Regions from separate parts of the Homo sapiens genome. Here all the other regions are linked to region 2. The links are contacts of gene promoters, found by promoter capture Hi-C in blood cells and fetal thymus (Javierre and others, 2016). All regions are on one chromosome and are shown on one strand. Each heading gives the region's core, a stretch centred on a gene start or on the middle of the fragment in contact. The rest is flanking DNA. Distances are from core to core; before and after follow the strand shown. Region 1 overlaps TP53TG1 (TP53 target 1). Region 2 holds the start of SLC25A40 (solute carrier family 25 member 40). Region 3 overlaps CROT (carnitine O-octanoyltransferase).

Evidence for each region. Contacts are between HindIII fragments. The CHiCAGO score rates a contact against its expected background, and 5 or more counts as called.
Region 1: a fragment that was not itself captured here is called in contact with the fragment with the promoter of SLC25A40 in region 2 in 4 of 17 cell types (neutrophils, naive CD8 T cells, naive CD4 T cells and 1 more); the score reaches 10.5 in neutrophils.
Region 3: a fragment that was not itself captured here is called in contact with the fragment with the promoter of SLC25A40 in region 2 in 9 of 17 cell types (non-activated CD4 T cells, fetal thymus, monocytes and 6 more); the score reaches 9.4 in non-activated CD4 T cells.

What each region holds. Positions count from the first base shown.
Region 1 is chr7:87,334,243-87,337,281 of GRCh38, forward strand. All of the region lies in intron 2 of TP53TG1 (TP53 target 1), which reads right to left. Among named protein-coding and RNA genes, the nearest start is that of TP53TG1, 9.7 kb to the right of the region's middle. The HindIII fragment of the contact is 9,846 bases long and covers 1-3,039 here.
Region 2 is chr7:87,875,104-87,878,108 of GRCh38, forward strand. It overlaps SLC25A40 (solute carrier family 25 member 40), which reads right to left and starts at 1,257. Exons shown (of 12, transcript NM_018843.4): 1 at 993-1,257. DBF4 (DBF4-CDC7 kinase regulatory subunit) reads left to right here and starts at 1,390. Exons shown (of 12, transcript NM_006716.4): 1 at 1,390-1,675; 2 at 2,950-3,005. The coding sequence starts at 1,630. RefSeq lists silencers at 650-1,099, 1,230-1,489 and enhancers at 853-1,362, 1,550-1,669. The HindIII fragment of the contact is 3,397 bases long and covers 1-3,005 here.
Region 3 is chr7:87,351,226-87,354,466 of GRCh38, forward strand. The region is part of intron 3 of CROT (carnitine O-octanoyltransferase); the gene reads left to right. Among named protein-coding and RNA genes, the nearest start is that of CROT, 7.2 kb to the left of the region's middle. The HindIII fragment of the contact is 7,253 bases long and covers 1-3,241 here.

The sequences.
Region 1 (3,039 bases), core at 39-2,538, 540 kb before region 2:
TTTTTATAATCAGGTTATTTGTATTTTTGCTGTTGATTTGTAAGAGTTTCTTTTCATATATTCTAGATATTAGAGCCTTATTTCAGTGGTCCTCAACCTTGTGGGAACCAAGAACTGGTTTCGTGGAAGACAATTTTTCCATGGGTCGGGGCTGGGGAGGATGGTTTCAGGATGAAACTGCTCCACCTCAGATCATCAGGCATTAGATTCTCTCTCATAAGGAGTGCACAACCTAGACCCCTTGCATGCACAGTTCACAATAGGGTTTGCACTCCTGTAAGAATCTAAAACAACCACTGTTCTGCCACGAGGCAGAGCTCAGGCAGTAATACTTGCTCCACTGCTTACCTCCTGCAGTGTGGCCAAGGTCCTAATGGGCCATGGACAGATACTGGTCCATGGCTTTGGGGTTGGAGACCCCTGTCTTATTTTATATATCATTAGAAAATATATATTTTCCCACTGTGTACGTATTTTTTTATTTTTAATTTTTGTGGGTAGGTGCATATAATTTATAGCATACATGAGAAATTTTGATACAGGCATTCAACGCCTAAAAATTACATCGGGGTAACTGGGGTATCCATCACCTCAAGCATTTATCATTTTTTTGTGTTACAAACATTCCAATTATACTCTTATTTTTTAATGTACGATATATTATTTGTTGACTGTAGTAACCTTGTTGTGTTATCAAATACTAGATATTATTCATCCTATCTGTGTTTGTACCCATTAACCATCCCCACTACTCCCTCACCCCTACTACCCTTACCTGCCTCTGATAACCATCCTTCTACTTTCTATCTCCATAAGTTCAACTGTTATAATTTTCAGCTCCCATGAATAAGTGAAAATATGGGAAGTTTGTCTTTCTGTGCCAGGCTTATTTCCCTTAACATAATGACCTCCAATTCCAATTCCATCCGTGTTGTTGCAGATGATGGGATCCTATTCTTTTTTATGGCTAAATAGTACTTCATTGTGTACCACATTTTTCAATCCATTCATCTGTTGATGGGCACTTAGGAAGCAATTTAAGTTGCTTCCAAATCTTAGCTATTGTGAATAGTGCTGCAATAAACATTGGATGCAGACATCTCTTTGATATACTGATTTCCTTTCTTTTGAGTATATACCTAGCAGTGAGATTGCTGGATCATATGGTATTTCTGTTTTTAATTTGAGGAACCTCCATACTATTCTCCATTGTGGCTGTACTAATTGACATTCCCACAAACAAGGTACAAGAGTTCCATTTTCTCCACATCCTTGCCAGCATTGGTTATTGCCTTTCTTTTGGGTAAAAGTCATTTAAAAATGTTTGTTAGGTGAAATAAAATATTAATTTATATTTGGTGGTAAAGGAAGACTAAAGAGATAATATATAAGCTGAGATCTGAAGGATAAATAAGTGTTGCCAGGTGGAGATGGTGGGAAGTGTCCTTGAAATAGATGGAAGAGCATGTTAAACATTTTGATTTTAAATTAGTGTATTTCAATTTTTAATGGCTATCTCCCTGTCTAGCCTGTGAGTTCCATGAGACTAGAAAGCATATCAGTCTTATTCTCTTAATTTATTTCCTGCACTTAGTACCATGATGGCAACAGTAATTATTGTTGAATGGGTGAACAAACAGGAAAATTAAAATGTACTATATTAGGGTATTTAACCAGGACAAAAACTTTCACTTGCTTATGGGCTTGTGACATTTATCTAGAACTACTAATATTCCTAATGCCTGAATGTCATTTCCAAAGTCTAGGTTTCACTTACCACAAATATGATACAACTCATTGATTTCATATTTTCTGAAAACACTTATGGTTCTGTATACTATTACTCCTTTTTTCCTCAGGAGCTACCAAATTTCGGTGTTCCAAAGCACTACCATGGTGTTTATCTGGTTCCTGGTGCCAGGTACTAGGCTTCCGCCTGTTGTTATAGCTTTCCCAACGCTCATTCTCACTGTCATACATCTGAACAAAGATTGCTTATGGATACATAGTACAATGTACAAACACACAATTATTGCTGTTCTGGGTTGGGCATTGTGTAATTTAAGAAGTAATCTAGCCAGACATAGTGGCTCATGCCAGTAATCTCAGCTCCTTGGGAGGCTGAGGTGGGAGGATTGCTTAAGTCTAGGGATTCAAGAACAGTGTGGATGACGTAGACCACGTCTCTACAATTTTTTTTTAAATTAACTAGGTATGGTGGCACATGCCTATAGTCCTAGCTACTCAAGAGGCTGAGGTGAGAGGATCACTTGAGCCAGAAGTTCAAGGCTGCAGTGAGCTATGTTTGTGCCACTGCATTCTAGCCTGGTGACAGAGCAAGGCCCTGCCTCTAAAATGTTTTTGAAAAGAAGCAATTAAGTAATAAAACTGTTTCCAAACTCAGCTCTGCCAGTGTGTGACCTGGAGGGAAATCACATCATTATTTGCCATTTCAACCATAAAATAAGGAAATATGCATTATAGTAACTTTTTTATGCTTTTATTTTAAGTTCAGGGGTACATGTTCAGGTATGTTACATGGGTAAACTTGTGTCATGTGGGTTTGTTGTAGAGATTATTTCATCACACAGGTATTAAGCCTAATATCATTAGTTATTATTCCTGATCCTCCCCCTGCCACCCCCCGCCATTCTCCAAAAGGTCCCAGTATGTGTTGTTCCCCTCTATGTGTCCATATGTTCTCATCATTTAGCTCCCACTTATAAGTGAGAACATGCAGTATTTGGTTTTCTGTTCCTGTGTTAGTTTGCTAAGGATAATGGCCTCCAGCTCTATCCATGTCCCTGCAAAGGACATGATCTTGGACATGATCTTGTTCTTTTTGGTGGCTGTATTGTTACAGAATTAACAACTTTACAGAATTAACAACTCAAATAGTAATAAACAAGATTTGATAAACTCCAAAGAATTTTACTTTTTTAATTGAGAAAGTTGAAAGAGATAATAAATAAAGTCTCTTCTATTTTTAACATTTTATAATTCTGGAATAGTCCAAAGTTCTCATGAGTGCCTCTATCT
Region 2 (3,005 bases), core at 7-2,506:
CTGTTAACCTCTAATGAATTGCCCCATGATTGACATCAATAGACCTTGATGCAGAAATATTTTATTGGAGAGATATCAAATCAATCTCTATTTCCTCTTCCCATGTCCACTTCTGCTAGACATTTCTCTCGAGTCATAAACATCTTTAACTGTCTAATAAGCATAGTTCCATGACTGTCGCCCCAGGCCCTTCAACATAAACCTGTCTAAAACCAAACTCTCATTTCCCTTAGCAAACCTGTTCTCTGCGTTCTCCAGCTAATCTTGTCACAACCCACCCTTGTCTATTCTTTAAGGTACCTACCTGCAAAACCGTAACGCTGATACTCTGACTTCCTTGAGCTACCAGGTAAAAAAATCAACCACTACAGGAGTGCCTATTATGGCCTGGAGTAGAGGAATGCAAAATAGTTCAAAATATCCTCTTCCTCCTGAAGAAACAGATTTTTTTTTTTTTTTGGAGAGGCATGTTCCAACTTATAAAATTAAAATATATTCACAAGCATTTTAATTTGATCTTTAATCTCTGTTTTACAGGAAAAAAAAATGAGATGTTACTTTCCACTCCTTCATTGTTGAAATAAACTTACACTCAACTAAAAGAAAACAGGTCTGAATACAATAAAAGTCAACAGGACAGCGCAAATAGCCAACTACCCAAGGACACAAAGTGACCTGGAGGCGTTCTGCGGTGGCGCTGCCGTCAAGGCCGGGGCCGCCTGGCCAGACCCTCCCTCAGACGCCCCCCGGGGCCGCCCTCACTCCCGCACGTCCCTCTGCAGCTGTCCTCAGCCGGTGGGGTCGGCAGTGACCGCGGGAAAACCCCGCTTGCTGTGCGACCCAGGGCGCGCTGAGCAGGGGCTGCGGCTGCCGCCGCTGTCCGGCTCCGGTTCCGGCCCCGGCCCCGGGCCCGGCCAGAGCTGAGTCCGGACTCAGCCAAAGCCCCTCGCCTTCAGCTTCCCAGACGTCCGACCAGTGGAAAATTAGCATACCTGGGGCAGAAGGCAGCTGCAGGGCCGGCAGTCCTGGCAAACCTAGAAGGCGGGAATAACCCTGGTGACGGGCGGGGCCGGGCTCCGGCGCTAACTGCATCCACTAGGTTTGGTCAACACAGAGCCGCGCCAACTCTCTGAGGCTGCGCCAAGACCTGAAGCGGCGGACCGAGAGCCCGGGTCTGAGACTGAGAGAGCAACGGAATGGAGGCGGGGTAGAGGCGGAAACACAACCTGCAGGGCCAGAGCGAGGCGCGAGAAGGACGGCGGCGTGAGGGGGCGGGGCGCGCAGCGCGAGAAGGCAGGCACGAGGGGCGAGCGCGAGGCGGGGCACGGCGCGTGGCGTGAGACGGGGCGGGGCGCGCGTATCGGCGCCGCGGCCGCGTGACGCGTTTTCAAATCTTCAACCGCCGCAGCCCACTCGTTTGTGCTTTGCGCCTTCCTCCTCCGCGCCTTGGAGCCGGATCCGGCCCCGGAAACCCGACCTGCAGACGCGGTACCTCTACTGCGTAGAGGCCGTAGCTGGCGGAAGGAGAGAGGCGGCCGTCCTGTCAACAGGCCGGGGGAAGCCGTGCTTTCGCGGCTGCCCGGTGCGACACTTTCTCCGGACCCAGCATGTAGGTGCCGGGCGACTGCCATGAACTCCGGAGCCATGAGGATCCACAGTAAAGGACATTTCCAGGGTAAGAAGCCCCTCCTCCGCCTGCAGTCCCTTTAATCCTTTCCTCCCCTCGTGGTTCCACCATTGATTCTTCAGACTTCTCCCGCCGGGTCCTCAGCTTCTTTTCTTCTGACCGGCCTCTGGGGTCTGAAGGAAGGAGCCCCCGTTCAGTGTTTTGCCTAAGAAGGAACGGATCCTGACCCGGCCCCTCGAGCGCTCTGCCGTTTACAGCGGCGGTCCCAGATTGATTCCCGGTCGTGCCTTCGGTTGAAAACTAGCAAACAATGTGCAGATCCGGGACCTCGCCGGGACTGCGGCGCTGTCTGCTCCCGGGCTCTCGCATATGCTAAGCCTCCGCCCGGGCCCTTGGAGGCGACGGACTGCATCCTCAATTTAAAGTCAGACGCGCTCGTGGCTTTTCGCTTCAGGATTAGATTGAGTGATTGTGGGTGGATTTTTGGTCTTACCCTTGAAAGTTTATTTTCCTTTCCTCATAAGTTGGGGGAAAGCATTGTATTTCAAACACCCCATTGCTGGTTTCAACATTACAAACAGGGAAACAAAAGCAAATTTCCATTTTCAGTCACTTTATTTGGTGAAACATTCCAGCACCTAAGTTTTTTGTACAGGTGTTTGTGTGTGTGTAGTAACTACCAATTTAAGAACAGATTGCGTTTGAAAAATTAATTTTTAAAGCAGTTGCTTGGATCTCAGATCTGTTTCTAATGAAAATAATGAAAGGTTTAGTTCTTCGTAATGGACCGTTAAGTTCTTAATACGTAGACAAATTGTATGTGAAATGGACCGTTTAGTTGTTAATATGCAGACAAACTTTATATGAAACTAAAACTTGAGCAGTCTGAAACCCTTGAGGACTAGGTTATTCTGCGTAACAGAGGATTCTTTCATCGCTAAATGAAGTTTAAACACCAGTTTTGAATGTTCAGCAGAATGGCAGATGCTCAATAAATAGTTGAGTATTAAATATCCCCATGGAGTTTACATCCTAAAAAAAGAAAATCTTTCAAAAGAGTTTTATATAGTTCCGTGCCTCAGGAATAAACACACGAATATTTCTTGCTGAGTCAACTATTATTTTACAATATGCGGTCTGTGAAAGTATATAGGGCATTTTGCCTCTATCCTAAGTAGTACTACAAAGAAATACATTTCAATGCTAATAACTTAAACTGGTAGGGTTGTAAGGATTTTTATTCTGTAATATTGTATAATGAAATATTTTAAAAATAGTAAAAGTGTCTGTGTAAAACATCTGATTCTAAACATCTTTAATAGGTGGAATCCAAGTCAAAAATGAAAAAAACAGACCATCTCTGAAATCTCTGAAAACT
Region 3 (3,241 bases), core at 514-3,013, 520 kb before region 2:
GTGAACCCGGGAGGCAGAGCTTGCAGTGAGCCACGATTGTGCCATTGCATTCCAGCCTGGACAACAGAGCGAGACTCCATCTCAAAAAAAAAAAAAAAAAAAAAAAAGAAAAGGAAAGGAAAGCATTTATCTCTTATAAACCATTCATTGGAATTGGAATGGCTTAAATTAGCCTATTTGATATGCCAAGGTAAGCCTGAGGTTGATGAAAGAGGTAATTCACTGCGTACCCAACAGTTTTTCTGGTTTAGAAGGGAGGCCGTAGTTTGTGCCCATTCTGTAAACAAATTAGCTCTAATATTATAATAGATCAAGTTTAATATTAAAACTAGTAATTTCATTTTGAGAGTAGTACTTATCCACTGGATGGATTCTTTTTTTGAAGAGAAGCCACAGGATTCTTTATTGGCTCACAAGAGTGTGCTGGAACAGTGGTCACCACGTTGAATGCCTGTGGGACTTTATGAGAGGCAGGTTTAATTTTGGATGAATGTACCCAAGTGTGTATTCCCTTACTCCACTAGAGGTACTTAGAAGCACTTGATAGGGTCCTCTCCACTTTGGAGAAAGTTGTCTATAGGAGGTCCTTCTTTCCAAGTCTTTAATATGACTAAGTCACCTGGTTGAACAGCAGAGTTATGAATATTTATGGAGGTGGTTCTGACACATGAATATTGAACAAACGTGCATGTAACATATGACTGTTTACCCTGCAATAGAGACTTAACCCTTGCCTTACGTGATCTTAGATTCTATTTATAATTTGGTATTTTATTGCCATAAAGAGTCTGTTTTGTCAATCTTATGATTTCTATTTTAATGCTAAGCTAGTCAGTTGTGACTGAATTCCAAGAAGAGGAAAGATATGGCAAGTCATGTCCAATCTCCCTGCTTCCCCTCATGGCCTGAATTAGTTTTCAGGTGTTTTGGATGCCCTTTGGCCAAGAAGAGGGTCCATTTTGTTGGGAAAGGGCTTAGAACTTTTAAAAACTTATTTATTTTAGTTTATAGTTCCCCTTTTTTTTGTTAAGGTATGCCATCAATGGCCAAGCTCTTATTTTGTCCAGTATTGATGTCAGGGTGGTGTGCTACCTGCCCTGGATCCATCATGTCCCTTGGTGGGACCACTATGGCCAAGGGACTTAAACAAAAGACTTATGGCCAATTAAACTTTCTAGGCCAGATGGGAATGGAGGTGGGCAGGCACTCCTTAACCTTAAAACCCCTTTTAAGCAACATAAGAGCCAAAAGCCAAATGGGACGGTTATAAAATTTGCTTATTTATAAATTCTATACATTAAGCTATTTTAATCTTGACTTGTAGCAATTAGCCATATAAAATACAACATTTTGTTCAGCTATAGAGGCAGTTTGCCTGACCTTGATTTGGAGGGTCTGAATTGATTTTATTCCCCACAACAAGCCCTTACAATCTCATGTGGTAGTCTCTGGGCCTGGAAGGACTAAATAGTTTCAAATTATAGAGGAAAACAAAACATAAGGAATTAATGTTTTAAACAAAAATGTCATAAGCCCTACCTAGTTATGAGAATGACATGAAAAGAAGCCCATACGTAGCCAAATACTTAAATTATTTAATATCAAGGCATAGAAAATTATATTCAGATATAGGCAAAATTATTAAATGAATCTTAATGTTTTGAATACAGGCCTGTCCCTATGTCTCTGTCTGTAGGTCTCATGAAAATAGTTTACTTTGATTGTCCAGGTCTAAAGACAAGGCTTTGATTAGCTTCAGCTTGCTATCAGATACTGGCAGGAGTCAGTGCCTTCTTTAGATGAGCTATATGTACTCAGGAGTCAAAGCCCTGTAACTGTAAGGCACAAGGATTAGTTAATAGCACTTGATAAGGACCCTTTTAAGGAACTAGAGGGAGTCCTTTAACGGATTTTTTTTCTTTTATTTTTCTTTTTTTTTTGAAACATGGTCTCGTTCCGTTGCCCAGGCTGGAGTGCATTGGTGCAATCTCAGCTCACTGCAACCTCTGCTCCCTGGGTTTAAGCAATTCTCCCAACTTAGCATCCTGAGTAGCTGGGATTACAGTCATGCACCACCATGCCCAGCTAACTTTTTGTAGTTTTAGTAGAGATGGGGTTTTGTCAAGTTGGCCAGGCTAGTCTCAAACTCCTGACCTCAAGTGATCCGCCTGCCTCCAGTTCCCAACATGCTGGGATTACAGGTGTGAGCCACTACGCCTGGCCCTTTAACTGATTCTTTTCTAGTATATATAATTATCAGGGTGGAGGTGGTATGTGTTAGGCCATTTTTGCATTGATATAAAGAAATACCTGAGGCTGGGTAATTTATTTTCAAAAAAGAAGTTTAATTGGCTCACAGTTCTGCAGGCTATACAGGAAGCATAGTGCTGGTATCGGCTTCTGGAAAGTCCTCAGGAACCTTACAATCATGGCAGAAGGTGAAGCAGGAGCAGGCACTTCACATGGTGACAACAAGAGCAAGAAAGAGAGAGTGACAGTGAGGAAGAGGTGCCACACACTTTTAAACAACCAGATCTGGTGTGAATCAGAGTGAGGGCTCACTTGTCACCAAGGGGACAGCCCAAGCCATTCTTGAGGGCTCTGCTCCCATGATCCAGCCACCTCCCACCAGGCCCCACCTCCAACACTGGGCGTTACATTTCAACATGAGATTTGGAGGGGACATCCAAACTATATTATGGTGATAATGGAGTTCATGGTGTGACTAAAAGCTGTAAAAAGATTCTACAGTCTTGTAGTGATTAATTTTTATAACTTTAATAAATCCCAGCAATAAGACTAAGTCAGAGACTTAATTTAGGATTTTGATTTTGAGGCTGTTTATTAAACATGTTAAAAGGCTGAAAACATTTGATCAAAACAGAAGCAGAGGTCATTGTAAAATAATAGTTACTCATTTAGCCAAAGTGATAATGAAAATGCTTTAGAAGCAATACAGAAGGTTACATGATGTAAAAACCTTAAGCCTTTTAAATCTTAGTTTTGGCAACCAAAAAAACCTAATAAAGACAGCATAGGAATTATACAATCTTGTTTCTTAAGACAGTTACCAAAAAGGCAAAGAAAAATTCTGCAGTGTGACTACTTCTGCTTATGGGAAGCCCATTTAGATAACCTGGACATCAAACCTGATGAAAAAAGTGCTTGGATTTAACTGGACCTAGGAAGAGTATATTCAAGGTTATGATTATAGCATAGGATTACCTCACTCTTAGGAACA